Regions from separate parts of the Homo sapiens genome. Here all the other regions are linked to region 3. Evidence: promoter capture Hi-C in 16 types of primary human blood cells and fetal thymus (Javierre and others, 2016). All regions are on one chromosome and are shown on one strand. The core of a region is centred on a gene start or on the middle of the fragment in contact, and the rest is flanking DNA. Distances in the headings are between cores, read along the strand shown. Region 1 overlaps CYLD (CYLD lysine 63 deubiquitinase). Region 2 overlaps NKD1 (NKD inhibitor of Wnt signaling pathway 1). Region 3 holds the start of ADCY7 (adenylate cyclase 7). Region 4 overlaps CYLD (CYLD lysine 63 deubiquitinase). Region 5 has its middle 17 kb from the start of SNX20.

Region 1 (2,700 bases), core at 37-2,536, 500 kb before region 3:
AAAAGTTGTCGAACTTGACACAAAAGCTTGACCCACACAAGAAAAACTATAAATTGGACTTCATAAAAATAAAAATCTTGTACTCTGTGAAAGACCCTATTAAGAGGATGAAAAGACAAGCTACACATTGGGAAATAAAATGTGCAAACCATATATTGAACAAAGAATTAGTATCTAGAATACATAAAGACTTCTCAAAACTCAACAGTAAAAAAGCACAGGATCCAATGAGAACCTGGGCAAAAGAGATGAGGACACCTTTCACTCAAGAATATATACGAAGGCTGGGTGCAGGGGCTCATGCCTGTAATCCCAGCACTTTGGGAAGCCGAGGCAGGTGGATCACTTGAGGTCAGGAGTTCGAGACCAGCCTGGCCAACATGGTGAAACCCTCTCTCTACTAAGAACACAAAAATTAGCTGGGCTCGGGGGCGCACACCTGTAATCCCAGCTACTTGGGAGGCTGAGGCAGGAGAATCACTTGAACCCAGGAGGTGGAGGTTACAGTGAGCCGAGATCACGCCACTATACTCCAGCCTGGGTGAACAGAGCAAGACTCCATCTCAAAAAAAAAAAAAAGAAAGAAAGAAAAAGAATATATACAGATGACAGTGAGTACACGGAACGATGTTCAACATCAGCAGCCATCAGGTAAATTCAAATCAAAATCACAGTGAAATACAACTACAAATCTCTCTGAATGGCTAAAATTAAAAATAGGGACAACATCAAATGCTGGAAAGGATACAGAGAAACCAGATTACCCATATATTGCCAGTGGTAAAGTAAGAGTACAGTCACTCTGGAAAACAGTTTAGCGGTTTCTTAAGAAACTAAATTTGCAAATATCACCGAATACGCACTTGGACAATTATGTCAAGAAATAAAGATTTATGTGCACTCAGGAAACTACACACAAATATTTATAAAAGCATTATTCATAATAGCCAAAAACTGGAAACAAACCAGATGTCCTTCAACAGCTAAACAGTTAAACAAACTGATACATCCATAATATGGAATATTACTCAGGAATAAACAGGAACAATCCATGGATATATATAAAATAATGTAGATAAATCTCCAGAGAATTATGCTCAGTGAAAAAAGAGCCAGTCTCAAAAGGTTACATACTGTACAACTCCATTTATGTAACATTCTTGAAATGACTGAATTACAGAAATCGACAGCAGATGAGTGGTTGTCAGAGGTTAAGGATGGGGCAGGAGGAAGAGGGAATTTGTGCGGCAGTAAAAGGGCAAGATAAGAGATCTTTGTGGGATGGGAATGTTCTGCTTCTTGATTGTATCAGGGTCAACATTCTGGTTGTGATGTTGCACACGTCTTGTTTTACAACATGTTAATGTTACCGCTGGGAAAAATTGGCTAAAGGGCACACAGGGTCCCTCTCTCTGCATGTGAATCTATAATAATCTGAAATGCTGTAAAGCATATATCTGCAAAAGGGTTTGTATTCAAAATTTATAAATAACTCTCAAAACCCAATCATAAAGAAACAATTAATAATCGGCCAAAGACTTTCACAGATACTAAACCAAAGAAGATATACAGATGACAAATATGCACATGGAAAGATGTTTGATATCACTGGTCACCAATGAAGCGCAGAGTAAAACCACAATTAGATGTTACTAAAATTTAAAAAACTGATCATACCAAGTGTTGGCAAAGATATGGAAGAACTGTATCTCTCATATACTGCTTCTGGGAATGTAAAATAATGCAACCACTTTGGAAACACAGCTTGGAAGGTTTGGGGGTTTTATTTAAGTTAACAGTCACCTATGATATTACCAGCCATTCCACATCTAGGTAAGTACCCAAGTGAAATGAAGGCATATGTCCATACAAAGATTCGTACACAAATTTTCATAGCAGCATTATTCATAATAGCCAAAAACTGAAAAAAACTCAAGTGTCCATCAACAAGTGAATGGATATAGAAACTAATATAACCATATCAACAATAAAAAGGACAACATGGATGAATAAAAAATAATTATGTCGAGTGAAATAAGCCAGACAAAAAAGAATGCATTCTGAGTTATTCCACTTTTGTAAAATCCTTAAAAATGTGAACAAGTGTATACTGATGTAAAGAAGACCAGTGGTTGTCTGAATGTAGGGGGTTGAGAGGACAGGAAGAGGCAGAGGGAGGGATCCCAAGGGACATATTTTGGGGTGATGGATATGTTCACTATCTTGATCGTAGAGATCGTCAAAAAAACAGCATTATACTCCCAACCCCCACAACTAGAACAGAAGACACAGGTTGAACTAGAAAAACCGAAATGTATAATTTTGGGGTGGTGCTAATTGATATGCTTCATCATAACAACTTCAAGAACATGAACATAATGTCAAATTAGATATGTTAGCAGTGTTTTTAACCATTTAGAACAGAAATATAAGAGAGAAACAATTTTATAACAGGTTTAAGATTCCTGCATCTTTCAATCAAAGGTATCCTTCAGAAGCCAACTATTACAAGCAATTGACTAGAAAGAATTCTTTCCTAAGCTTCCCAGCCATTCAACTGCTCTGAAAAGAATCTTTTTTCTTTTTTAAATGCTGTAAATATTAATTTTGTTTCACGGATGAAGGTAATTGGGCAAGAAAAAGAAACTAAGGAACTAAAGGAGACACTTTGACTTTTTTTTCCCCTCAAGAAAAGAGTCC
Region 2 (2,700 bases), core at 130-2,629, 380 kb before region 3:
GGTAAGTTGCTTAACTGAACTGTAACTCTGTTTCCTCGTTGGTTTCCTCTCAAGGCTGTTTTGAGGACACTAGTGAATGTGGGCTGGGTGCACAGTAGGCACTCTGTAAGTGGCAGATATGGCAATGTGGACTCCTCAGCGATCCTGCAGCTTAGGAGTTGGGCAAGGACAGACCCAGATGTAGGGTAGCGAAGCATTGCTCCAGAGGCCACCTCTTTCCCCAAGGAAGGCACTGCTGGCATGGCTTTCAGGCTGCCCATCCCCACCACTACCCCTACTGTTTGTAGGACTTAGAGCTGCCACCCCCATAGTCTAGCTTCAAGCCAAGGGCAGTTTCATAATACAAATATGGTACTGAAGGCCAGAGACAGCAGGGGCTTGTCCAAGTTCACACCACAAGTCGGGTCTGGAAGGAACAGAGTGATCCCATCAAACTTGAGAGGGAAAAGTCATGTCCTCAAGTGTTTTTTGAGTGTGTAGCAGAGGCAGCATGCCACAGCAGCTGTCTCACTGGGGGCTCTGCAGCCGGGGTGGAGGACAGGTACCCTTCATCCATCAGGACTGCACCTCCTTTCCCATGAGCCTTCTGGGGTCACATTCTCCTAACTGCAGCTACTGTTGCTGTTTTACTTATCGAGGGCCTATTACGTGCCAGGCTCTGCGCTGAACGCTTCACGCCCACTGGATCATTTACTCATAACAGCTCAGTAAGGTAGTTACCCCAATTAGCCCCATGTTAGAGAAAAACACCAAGGCACAGAGGTGAGTCACTTGTCCCAGGTCACACATCTAGGAAGTAGTAGAACCAGGACTCAGCTCAGGTCCAAAGTCTCAACCATGGGCCAGTCTGCTCATCTTAGCCAAACCCCCAGGCTGCATTCTGTGGTCCAGCTACTGGATCCTGCAACCTTCTCAGACTCTATCCATGAAGCCAAGTGCACAGGATCTAGGACATCAGGTCCAGAGAATTTGGGGCCACATCTTCCTGGACCTGCAGATGGGCAAGGACCAGACTCTAGCCTGAACAGTGAGATGCAGCCCAGAGAAGTGGGAATCCACAGACAGAGCCTGGCCTGAGACTCCTACTGAGACTGCCCATGTGGCCACTCGGGGAGTTCCCGTCCCCTGCCTGATCAGCAGTCTTTTTGCTTCCCCCTCCAAGAGAGCTGGGGGGCATTCCTCCAGGAAGCCTGATATGTAACAAACTCCTTTCCCATTTCTTGCTTTGCTTAAATCTCCAAAGTCCCTGGAGCTGAAGCCAAGCGGGCCTCATTAGGTCCACTTTACAGAAAAGCAAACTGAGTCTCAAAGAGGGGAAGTCACTGAGCCGGGTACAATCCAGCCAGTCTTTTGAGTTGGGGCTTTCCACCTGTCTTGGCTGTTTAAGGAGTGCTGGGCGGGGTCTCACACAGCCTGGGACCCTTTGCTGGGGGTTCCAGCCCACCTTGCCCCATCTAAAGGAGGAGTGGGGCCACATTGTGAGGGTCTCCAGGACTGCCCCAAAGACTTCCCCATGAAAGTCCTCCCATGCCTGAAGCTGCTCCCTTAGCCATCCTCCTGTCTAACGCTCTGCCCTGAACAGGTTTTTAAGTGGCATCACTGACCTCCAAAACTTAGGTGCTTGAGGCTGCGCAGGGGTCATGAGCTGAATCGCATCAAAGCCAGGCCTCAAAATCAGGCTGAGAGGGGCTCCGGGCGCAGGAAAAAAGGCATGTGCACCATTGGAAGAGGCGGGCGGATTGCAGCCATGTGGGAACAGGAGCCTGGGGTAAACCCACTTTCTGATTTTTATGAGAAAAGCCAAACATCCAGGTTTTTAGGTGAAACCCTCAGATTTTGGAAATTAATTAAAAATTTTTGAAACCCTTGATGGGTCAAACATGACACATCGATGGGCCAGGCTAGGTACGGTCCCGGTGAGCAGAGGATTGACTTCTGGAGGCTTAGAGTGGGCAGGGGACAGGAAGGCAGGGCAGAGTTCCAGACTCCACAGCTTCCTGGGGAGTGTGGCTCTGAGCAAGTTGGCCTCAGGCCCACTCCAACCCCTCTACCAGGCACCAAGAGACATAGTTCAGCCCCGACCATTGAACTGGCCATGACAGGCCTGCTGATACAAGCAGACCACCCCCGCCAATGGCCTCTGTGGAGTTACTGACCAGTGTTGGAGGTTGCAGAAGCCCCCTCTCCAGACATCAGAGCTGTCAGCCTCCCCCAAGTCCTTTGCAGACAGCTGAGGCCATGACTGGAAAAAGGACCTGCAAGCCGGTCTGCGCTCAGCTTTGGGAAGAACTGTCCATTTGGACTCCACACCCCCACCTGGAGTCTCAGGTCTCCCGTCTCTAAAATGGGAAGAAAAATTCTAGCCCTACTACAATGTGTGGCTGACCAAACTTTCACTGATTTCCAAGGAAAGAAAACAAAACAAAAACAAAGACAACATAATGAGGTTGTTTTTTTTTTCTTTTTAACTTCTTTTGGTTTTTCTTTAAACAGTAAGGGACTGCAATTTTCTATTCTTTTTCTAATATCCTTATTTAGCAAAATTAAAAGTTGGCGATGATGTGTTGCTTTCCCAGACTTTTATTTGAAATGTGACTGCTTTGTAAAACTCCAGAGTCAAGGACTCATAGGCAGGAGGATGTCATAAATTAACAGGAAAGGATGAGAAATCTCCACTCCACTCCCTCCTCCCTCCCTTGA
Region 3 (2,700 bases), core at 186-2,685:
CTCTGCACCAGGAGCTGCAGGTAAACCTTGGGAACCCAGGGCCTCTGGAGGTGGGAAGACAGACAACTGGGTGGGAAGCGAAGGCTGTGCAGCAAACGCCTTCCTGAGCTGCAGCCCCCTCAGCCTCCTGCACTTCCTGCAGGGCTGGCACTTGGCACTTCCTCTCAAATTGGCTGGCTTGTCACTTTTATGTCTCCTTTGGCCTCGTCTAAGACAATAATACAGTCATGATGTCACAATGGCAATGTCCTATTTACAGATTTTTTTTTCCCCAAGACAAATACTTAGATTTTAAACATGTCCTTCCACACACAGGCTAGAACCCCCTGTGATTCCCTGGGCAGCCCGGTCCTCACTCCGAGAAACACTGGTGTTGAGTCCACCCCTCACAGCCTCCATCTGCAAGATGGTGATGCTAGTGAAGGCCCACGGTCACATAGCCCTTCCAGACACATCCAGCCCACACTGGCTGCCCGTCCAGGCCTTGGACCCAGGGCCCCTGTCGTAGGTGGCTCGGCCTGGCCCCTACCTCCAGGCCCTTGGCTTCCCCCTCCCGGCCCTCCCTTCTCCTCTCCAGCAATGGCTGTCCAGGGAGGAAGCCCCCAGCCACAGATGTCCCTGCCCTTGACCCTGATGTGATGACACAGAGAAGAGGCAACTGCCTCACCCTCTGTACATACATGTTTAGATGAATGCATAGAAAGCTCCAGAAAGACCCGCTCCAGAAAGACCCACTCCAGATGGCCCATGCGGTCCCTGGGGGATAGAGGAGAGGCATTGCAGGGAAAGGGAAACCAGTCTGCTTTTTGGAGGCATCTTGGTTTCCTGACCCTCAGGCATGCACTCCTTTCAGAGGTTTTGTTTGTTTTTTGTTTTATAATTTCATAAAATTAGTTGAATTGGCCTTCCCTTGCCAATGTTTCCTTTCATTGAGAAAAGTCATGTGTGCTTGTAAATGTAAAATTACACCCTCGAGAAGGAGTGTGGACATTTGAGAGTCTGTGGTTCCTAGAATTCCAGATGGAACGGGCCACATGTACAACATTGTGGTCACAACCGCACTTTCTTGTCAGGCTGGGAAAAGCCAGTGACAAGTCGCCTCTGGTCCCCTGTTGAAGGGCCGCCTCTCCCAGCCATCTGCCCAGTAGGCTCACGGAGCCTCCTACTCCCCCAGCCCAGACCCTGCCCAGTGCACTCCCAGGCCAGGCTGCCGGGTGAGCTGCTTCCCACCCACTGTCCAGCCCCGTCCCCTGGGGCTCAAGCCACTAGGACTGGTGACACTCCATCCCCACACCCCACTTTTACCTGGCTCTCCTCCCCGGCCCCAGCAGCCGGCCAGGGTCTGCAGGGAGGTGGCCCGGCCCCCGCCTGCCCTTCCTCAGACGCGCCCAGGCTCACCCATCCGAAGGCTCCTTCCACGCTACCTAATGAGAGTGAGTCACATCTGGGACCCACCACTTCCTGCTCCGGCAGCGGCAGCAGCGGCGGCGGCGGCAGCAAGGCTAAGGCACAGCCCACAGCCCAGCCTCTCGGGGTGTGCAGGGCCCCCTCCCCCAGCCACAGTGCTGCTCTCCGCAGCCTGGGAGCTGCCAGGCCTGGGAGCTGTCGGGCTCCAATGACTTCATGGAAATTTGAAGCTTGAAGCTGGAACAATTTTGAAAAAATAATAATAAAACAAGCACCAAAAACCTCCATTAGAAGCCCCAAGACAACTGTTCAAAGTGGGGAGCAAATGCATCCTTAGTGAGCAATTAGCAATTAGCGGCCTGGCCTGAGCCTCCTGTGGGCTCTGACGCTCACAGACAGGCCCCCCGCGCCTTCCTGGGACTCAATTTCCCTATCTATGTAGTAAGGTGGCCCCGTCCACCTCTGAGAGGGGCCCAGGAGAGGTCAAAGATCTTCCAGCCCAGCCCACTGCCTCTCCATCTCACCTACGCTCCCATGCTGGGAGCAGGGCAGGGGCAGGCCCATCCTTGGGGCTCCTATTCCAAAATCAGAGTCCCTGGAGAGCCCCCAACATCCCTGGGCACCATGAGGCTGGGAATCAAACCCCAGCACCCCTTCTGCTATGCCAGGCCTCAGTTTCCCCACTGGGATCATGGGGCGCTCAGTGGCGAGGGAGCAGATCAGGAGAGGCTAAGAGGAGAGAGTGGAGACTCCCAAAACAGAGGGGGAGGCCTCCAGCCCGCTGGCCACAGCAGCACCTGGTCCTCAGGGAGCCCTTCTGAGCATGTGACTGGCATCCTGGGATTACGAGCTCCTCAAAGCAATGGTGTACCTCCTCCACCTCCCACATCCAGGGTCAGACACCCCTCTTCTGGTCTTCTAACCCCTGCACCTTCCTCCATCACAGCACCTCTGTGCTGTGACCACTGGTTGCTGGTCTGTCTTTCCTAGGTTATATCCTTGAGGAGGGCAGAGATGGGAGGGCAGCTGTAATATCAACAGCTGTGTCCCCAGCGTCCAGCCCCAGCTGGTCACAGAGTAGACATCCCACACATACTGATCAGGAGGAACTGAACATGTTAGGTGCTGTCTCTGTGCCAGGCCCCATGCAGGGAACTAGCAGGTGATCTAAGGTCTGCCATCTGGTGGAGACAGGCATAGGACTCACACAGGGTTCCAGGCTGCTCCAGAGGCCACAGGAGGGAGTGGGAGACCTCAGGGGATCCTCCCCATCAGGGTCGCCCTCCTATCAGC
Region 4 (2,700 bases), core at 142-2,641, 480 kb before region 3:
CTGTATGCACACTTAAAAATGCTTAAGTGATAAATTTTGTTATGTATATTTTACCACAATTAAAAAAGGTTTTTAAAATGAATGAAATCCTATGAGATATTCTGATTGTCTATTCCTCAAAATCAATGTGGTTTTCCTCTACTCAGGTATTTTCTATAAATGATTATTATACTAATTATTAAAATCAGATCAGCCATTAAATTGTGTAGAATATCACAAAAAAATGGAGTACCCCAAAAAACTGTTTCAAAATAAAGAAAAATAGGACTTCAAGTAATATAATTGTGTTTTGTCTTGTTTTGTTTTGTCTACTGGTCAGCTACAATAAGGCAAATTTAAAGATAGAGAACATTATTCTAGTTTATTCAAATGGGAAAAAAAAGTAAATGTAATCTGTATCTAGACCCCTGTTCTATTTCAATGCTCCTTTACCAAAGATAAATTAGAACATGTTCTTTAAAGTACTCCAAATTAGATCATGTTAAATATTCAAAGTGTTCAATTTGCAAGTAAATTGGTCCTAAAACTAATACATATATATATAAACTATACATATATATGTGTGTATATATATGTGTGTATATATATGTTTATATATATATATACATATATATATAAACTAATATATATATCACAAAGATATTTAATCCAAAATTTTCTTACCATGTCCACACCAACAAAATATCCTAAGCTTTCTTTTCCTGGCAAAACATCACAGAATATAACTGTTCCAGATTCTATTGTTTCTCCAACCTTCAAAGAAACTCTGGAGTTTATTTCCAAAGGAGGAAGTTCGACCTGCATTGTGTCCCCAGGACCTGCGTAATCACTTTCCAATGCAGTGTCATCATCTTCTATGAGTTCTAGCTTGTCCAATGCAACAAACACGCCACAATCTTCATCACACTGAAAAAGCTGTTTCCCTTGGTACACCCCGTCAGTGAAACCTTGACCACGACCTTCTTCCTAGTTTTTAAGAGAGAAGGGAAAGAAATAGATATAGAAAGACGATCCATAGGAAAAGGGGTTCACTCTAGGGATTTCAGGAAAATCACTCTGGAAAATTTCTAAATGATACATATAATAAGAAATACAATTATTAGCAGTTTCTGTTGGATTTAGAGTGTTTTAAAAAATAAGAAGTTGTATCTGATGCTGAAATAATATTATCTGATAATTTCAATTCATAACTCTATCATGAGAAAGCTAGGCTGAATTCCACGTTGTGATTCTAACATTAATTTGGTTATAAAAAGAAAATGTTACTTTAAAATAGCAGTAATGTTAGCTCCATTCATTAAGCACTTATTGTCAGTCACTGTGCTTAAATCCTGCATCAATGTACCACAAAAACACTACAAGTCATGTACTATTAACACCATTGTACAGGTAAGGATGCAGAATGAGAGAAGTTAAGTAGCTTTGTTAAGTAACCTGGCAACCCAGCTAGTAAATGGCTTAACTGGGATTCAAATTCCTAATTGTTTACAATCACTGCTTTTAAAAAAAATTAAATCAAGAAGCAAAGAAGACATGCAATTCTATTGGCAAGAGTGTCAAAATGTAATTGGCATTTCAGTTCTTGTGAATGAATATTAAGTTTGGAAACATATCACAGCATTCTTGGGTCTCCTTCCGGTAGAAATAAATTCTAAGGATTTTCACATATATTATCGGGGACAATTATAAGCAAGTTTAAATTTCTGCAACTTTTTTTTCAAAAATCTTATATCTAAATTGTTATTTAATAACATACATTAAGAAGAACTAAGAAACCTATAGATGATAACGCAAGGTAATTAACAATTTTTTATGTAACTATTTACAACTGGTAGCGTTCATGTTTAATACAGGCAATGTTAAAATTTCTAAAATATATATGTCTGCAATAGCCAGGTGAATCTCTTTGTATGTTCCTACCATAGTACATAGTTTTTTAAGTTTCGACATCATCTTTACATCTTCGCAATTCATCATTAAAAAGTAAACAAAAGAAATTAAATCAAGAAGCAAAGAAGGCATACAATTCTATTTGCAAGAATGTCAAAATATAATTGACATTTAAGTTCTCAAGAATGAATATTAAGCTTGGAAACATATCACAGAGTTCTTGGGTCTCTTTCCAACAGAAATAAACGCCAAGGTGATTTTCACACATATTATCAGTGACAACTATAAGCAAGTTTTGGATTATGGATTCAACCACAACATGGATTCATCAGCAAGGATGATGAATATTAAAAATTACAGAAGACTCTTGGGAAAATTTATTTCGTATTTAAGGAGAAAAATATGTATGTGCATACAAATACACAGACACACATGAACACAAACAAACACACTACTAAAATGGTTTATCAAACTTACCAGCAATTCAACTCCAAAGAATATTCCGGAGACTGTCCTCTCTGCTAACAGGGGTCCTCTGAAGCGTACAACTCCAGGAAATTTTTCTTCCCCAGATCTCAGCTGTACTTTCACAGGACAGCCCACGTCTATTTGGAGGCCTTTACTTAGTCTGTTTCTGTTTTTAAACAGGCTGAACCTCTCCTCACAATTGGTAATTGCCAAAAGTAACTCTGTGAACTTTTCATTTATCTCTACAACATCCTTTTCATCAACAAAGAGAACTGCATGAGGTTGCTCTAGAATTTTTAATCCAATCTGATTTTTCTTGCCTTTTGCAGAAGGAATCCTTGA
Region 5 (2,700 bases), core at 164-2,663, 400 kb before region 3:
AGCTGGGATTACAGGCGCCCGCCACCACGCCCGGCTAATTTTTGTACTTTTTTTAGTAGAGACGGGGTTTCGCCATGTTGGCCAGGCTGGTCTCGAATTCCTGACCTCAGGTGATCTAAGCTATTTTTACTGGTTTAATCTTATTCCCTTTCCACGGGGCAGGTCTGGAGAGACCGAGAGGATCTGATCCTGCAATTTAAAAAGTAGACAGCAGATGGCGCTGCCGCCTCGGCGGCTCCGAACGCATCGCCGCGGTGCGGGCGGAAAAAGCTGAAACAGCTGGGAAACCGAAACTTTCTCCAGGCTTCTGAAAGCCCTTAGACGGGATTTGAAATCATGCTGGAAAGAGCTTTGCTGCCTCTATAACCTCTCCCCAGCAAGTGTTTTGATGGGGGGTCCCCGGGCGACCTCCACTTGGGGTTTGGGACCTCACTCCCTTTCTGCCCCTCCATCCTCTTCCCTCAGCCCAGAAGCCCCAAAAGGCGGAGGCCACCGCCCTCCACTTCCCGCAAGCGGAATCCGCAGGGTTTCACAAGAGAGGGCGCTGCAAATAGCCAGTATCAGCGCCCCCAGGAGCAGGATCGGCCATGGCTTCCGAGAACGGGCCTAACTGCGCCTCTCTCGGTCTGGGGGGAGAGGCCCTTCCCCAGTAAGGCCCGCGCCACGTCGCTTTCCAGGGGGAGAGATTGAATAACCTGCTCCTCCCAGATCCCATCTCCCACCTTTTCAGGACCCAGATGGCGTGGGGGACTCCCCACCCATCTGCCTACTGAACTGGGGGAGTGAGAAGAGGACTCCCAGAGGACACCACTAGTGACCTTTTAATTCACCAGTAGACACACAAGGCTATAGAGACTGTGAGTAATGTGGGTTGGATAAATAAGTATAAGAAAGGAAAATGGAAGGAGGCTGGGAGGAAAAGAAAAGAGAAATGACGTTCCCTGCTTGTTAGAGTATAAATGGTACAACCACTTAAGAAAACCATTTGGCACCATTCCTCAAAGCTGAACGTAAACTGTCCTGTAAGTACCCAGCAATGCCGCCCTTAGGAATATACCCTATAGACAGATAGGCAAGCATGCTCACCAAAAGACATGTACCACAACTGCACAGCAGGAACAGCTCCTGATACTGTCCCCCAGCTGGAAACAACCCAAGTGTCTGCGAACCATAAAACAGAGAAGGGACTTGGGGTATTCTTATGTGGAACATGAGGCAGTTATGAAACAAGCTATGCTTGGACACAAGGAAGTGGATGAACCTCACAAGAGACTGCATGAAAGAAGCCAGACACAGACGGATGCAGCCTGTGTGGTTCCATTTCCTGAAGGCCAAGGGCAGGTCGGACTCAACCAGAGGGCTGAAGCATGCTTGCTTAGATGGCAAAACTCCTGTACTAGGGTTCTCCGGAGAAAAAGAACCAAGAGCAGAGATAGATATGGATATGGACATATAGTATATGTCTATATATTTGCATATAATGAGATTTAGTATAAGCGATGAGCTCCTAGAATTATGGCGGCTGAGAAGTCCCAGCATCTGCCATCTGCAAGCTGGAGACCCAGGAAGGCCGGTGGTGCAGTTTGAAGGCCTGAGAGCCAGCGAGCTGACAGTGTAGACTCTAGTCCAGGTCTGCAGGCCTGGGAACCAAGAATGCTAAGAGCAGGAGATCCAGGCTCCAGCTTGGCGATCAGAGAGGAGGCAAATCCAACGGTCCTCTGCCTTTTTTGTTCCGAACAGGCCTTCAGTGAGTTGGAAGATGCCCGTTCACATGGGGGAAGACCGTCTGTCACACTCAGGGCATCAACTCCAATGCTAATCTATCCTAGCAGACATACCCAGAAATAATGTTTAAGCAGACATCCGGGCATCCCATGGCCCGGTTAAGCTGACATAAAATTAACCATCACAACTCCTGAAATTAAAAAAAGCAGAAAGGGTTACTATAAAAGTTGAGATGGTGGTTATCACTTCGAGGGGGTGAGGAGGTTTTGACTGGGATGGGGACAGTGAGGAGTCTCAGTTCTTACTCTAGGGTGATGGTTGTAAAAGTATTTGCTTAGTAATAATTTGTTAAGCTGTACACTTTTATGCACTTTTCTCCGTGTGTTCTATTTCACAATAAGAATATCTTAATAGGCTGGGTGCAGCAACTCACACCTGTAATCCCGGCACTTTGGGTGGCTGAGGTGAGAGGATCACTTGAGGCCAGGAGTTTGAGACCAGCCTGGCCAACATAGTGAGACCCTGTCTCTACAAAAAGAAATTAAAATTTAAAAATGTTAAAATTGGCCGAGTGCGGAGGCTCATGCCTGTAATCCCAGCACTTTGGGAGGCCGAGGCGGACGGATCACCTAAAGTCAGGAGTTTGAGACCAGCCAGGCCAACATGGTGAAACCCTGCCTCTACTAAAAATACAAAAATTAGCTGGGTGTAGTGGTGGGAGCCTGTAATCCCAGCTACCTGAGAGGCTGAAGCAGGAGAATTTCTTGAACTCAGGAGGCAGAGGTTGCAGTGAGTCGAGATCGTGCCAAGGCCCTGCAGCCTGGGCAACAGAGTGAGATTCTGTCTCAAAAAAACAAAAAACAAACCAAAAAACAACAGAAAACAAAAACAAAATGTTAAAATTTAAAAATATAAATATGTTAATAAAAGAATAAATTGGGGCAGCAAATATAAAGTCAATATTTATTAGGCACC

What was found. The method cuts DNA at HindIII sites, captures the fragments that hold promoters and counts their contacts. A CHiCAGO score of 5 or more calls a contact.
Region 1: a contact is called between a fragment that was not itself captured here and the fragment with the promoter of ADCY7 in region 3, in 1 of 17 cell types (total CD4 T cells). The highest score is 6.9, in total CD4 T cells.
Region 2: a contact is called between a fragment that was not itself captured here and the fragment with the promoter of ADCY7 in region 3, in 2 of 17 cell types (activated CD4 T cells and naive CD4 T cells). The highest score is 5.5, in activated CD4 T cells.
Region 4: a fragment that was not itself captured here is called in contact with the fragment with the promoter of ADCY7 in region 3 in 4 of 17 cell types (naive CD4 T cells, non-activated CD4 T cells, total CD4 T cells and 1 more); the score reaches 9.9 in naive CD4 T cells.
Region 5: a contact is called between a fragment that was not itself captured here and the fragment with the promoter of ADCY7 in region 3, in 1 of 17 cell types (naive CD4 T cells). The highest score is 5.3, in naive CD4 T cells.

Annotation. Positions count from the first base shown.
Region 1 is chr16:50,768,333-50,771,032 of GRCh38, reverse strand. All of the region lies in intron 5 of CYLD (CYLD lysine 63 deubiquitinase), which reads right to left. Among named protein-coding and RNA genes, the nearest start is that of CYLD-AS1, 27 kb to the right of the region's middle. The HindIII fragment of the contact is 2,515 bases long and covers 29-2,543 here.
Region 2 is chr16:50,640,604-50,643,303 of GRCh38, reverse strand. NKD1 (NKD inhibitor of Wnt signaling pathway 1) reads right to left here. Exons shown (of 10, transcript NM_033119.5): 10 at 1-2,700. Among named protein-coding and RNA genes, the nearest start is that of NKD1-AS1, 28 kb to the right of the region's middle. The HindIII fragment of the contact is 3,833 bases long and covers 1-2,700 here.
Region 3 is chr16:50,265,286-50,267,985 of GRCh38, reverse strand. It overlaps ADCY7 (adenylate cyclase 7), which reads right to left and starts at 1,435. Exons shown (of 26, transcript NM_001114.5): 1 at 1,306-1,435. RefSeq lists enhancers at 1,663-1,752, 1,698-2,291. The HindIII fragment of the contact is 14,845 bases long and covers 1-1,639 here.
Region 4 is chr16:50,749,870-50,752,569 of GRCh38, reverse strand. CYLD (CYLD lysine 63 deubiquitinase) reads right to left here. Exons shown (of 19, transcript NM_001378743.1): 3 at 2,368-2,700; 4 at 664-966. Among named protein-coding and RNA genes, the nearest start is that of CYLD-AS1, 8.5 kb to the right of the region's middle. The HindIII fragment of the contact is 1,396 bases long and covers 694-2,089 here.
Region 5 is chr16:50,663,071-50,665,770 of GRCh38, reverse strand. No RefSeq gene overlaps it. Among named protein-coding and RNA genes, the nearest start is that of SNX20, 17 kb to the left of the region's middle. RefSeq lists a silencer at 129-218 and an enhancer at 54-555. The HindIII fragment of the contact is 9,909 bases long and covers 1-2,700 here.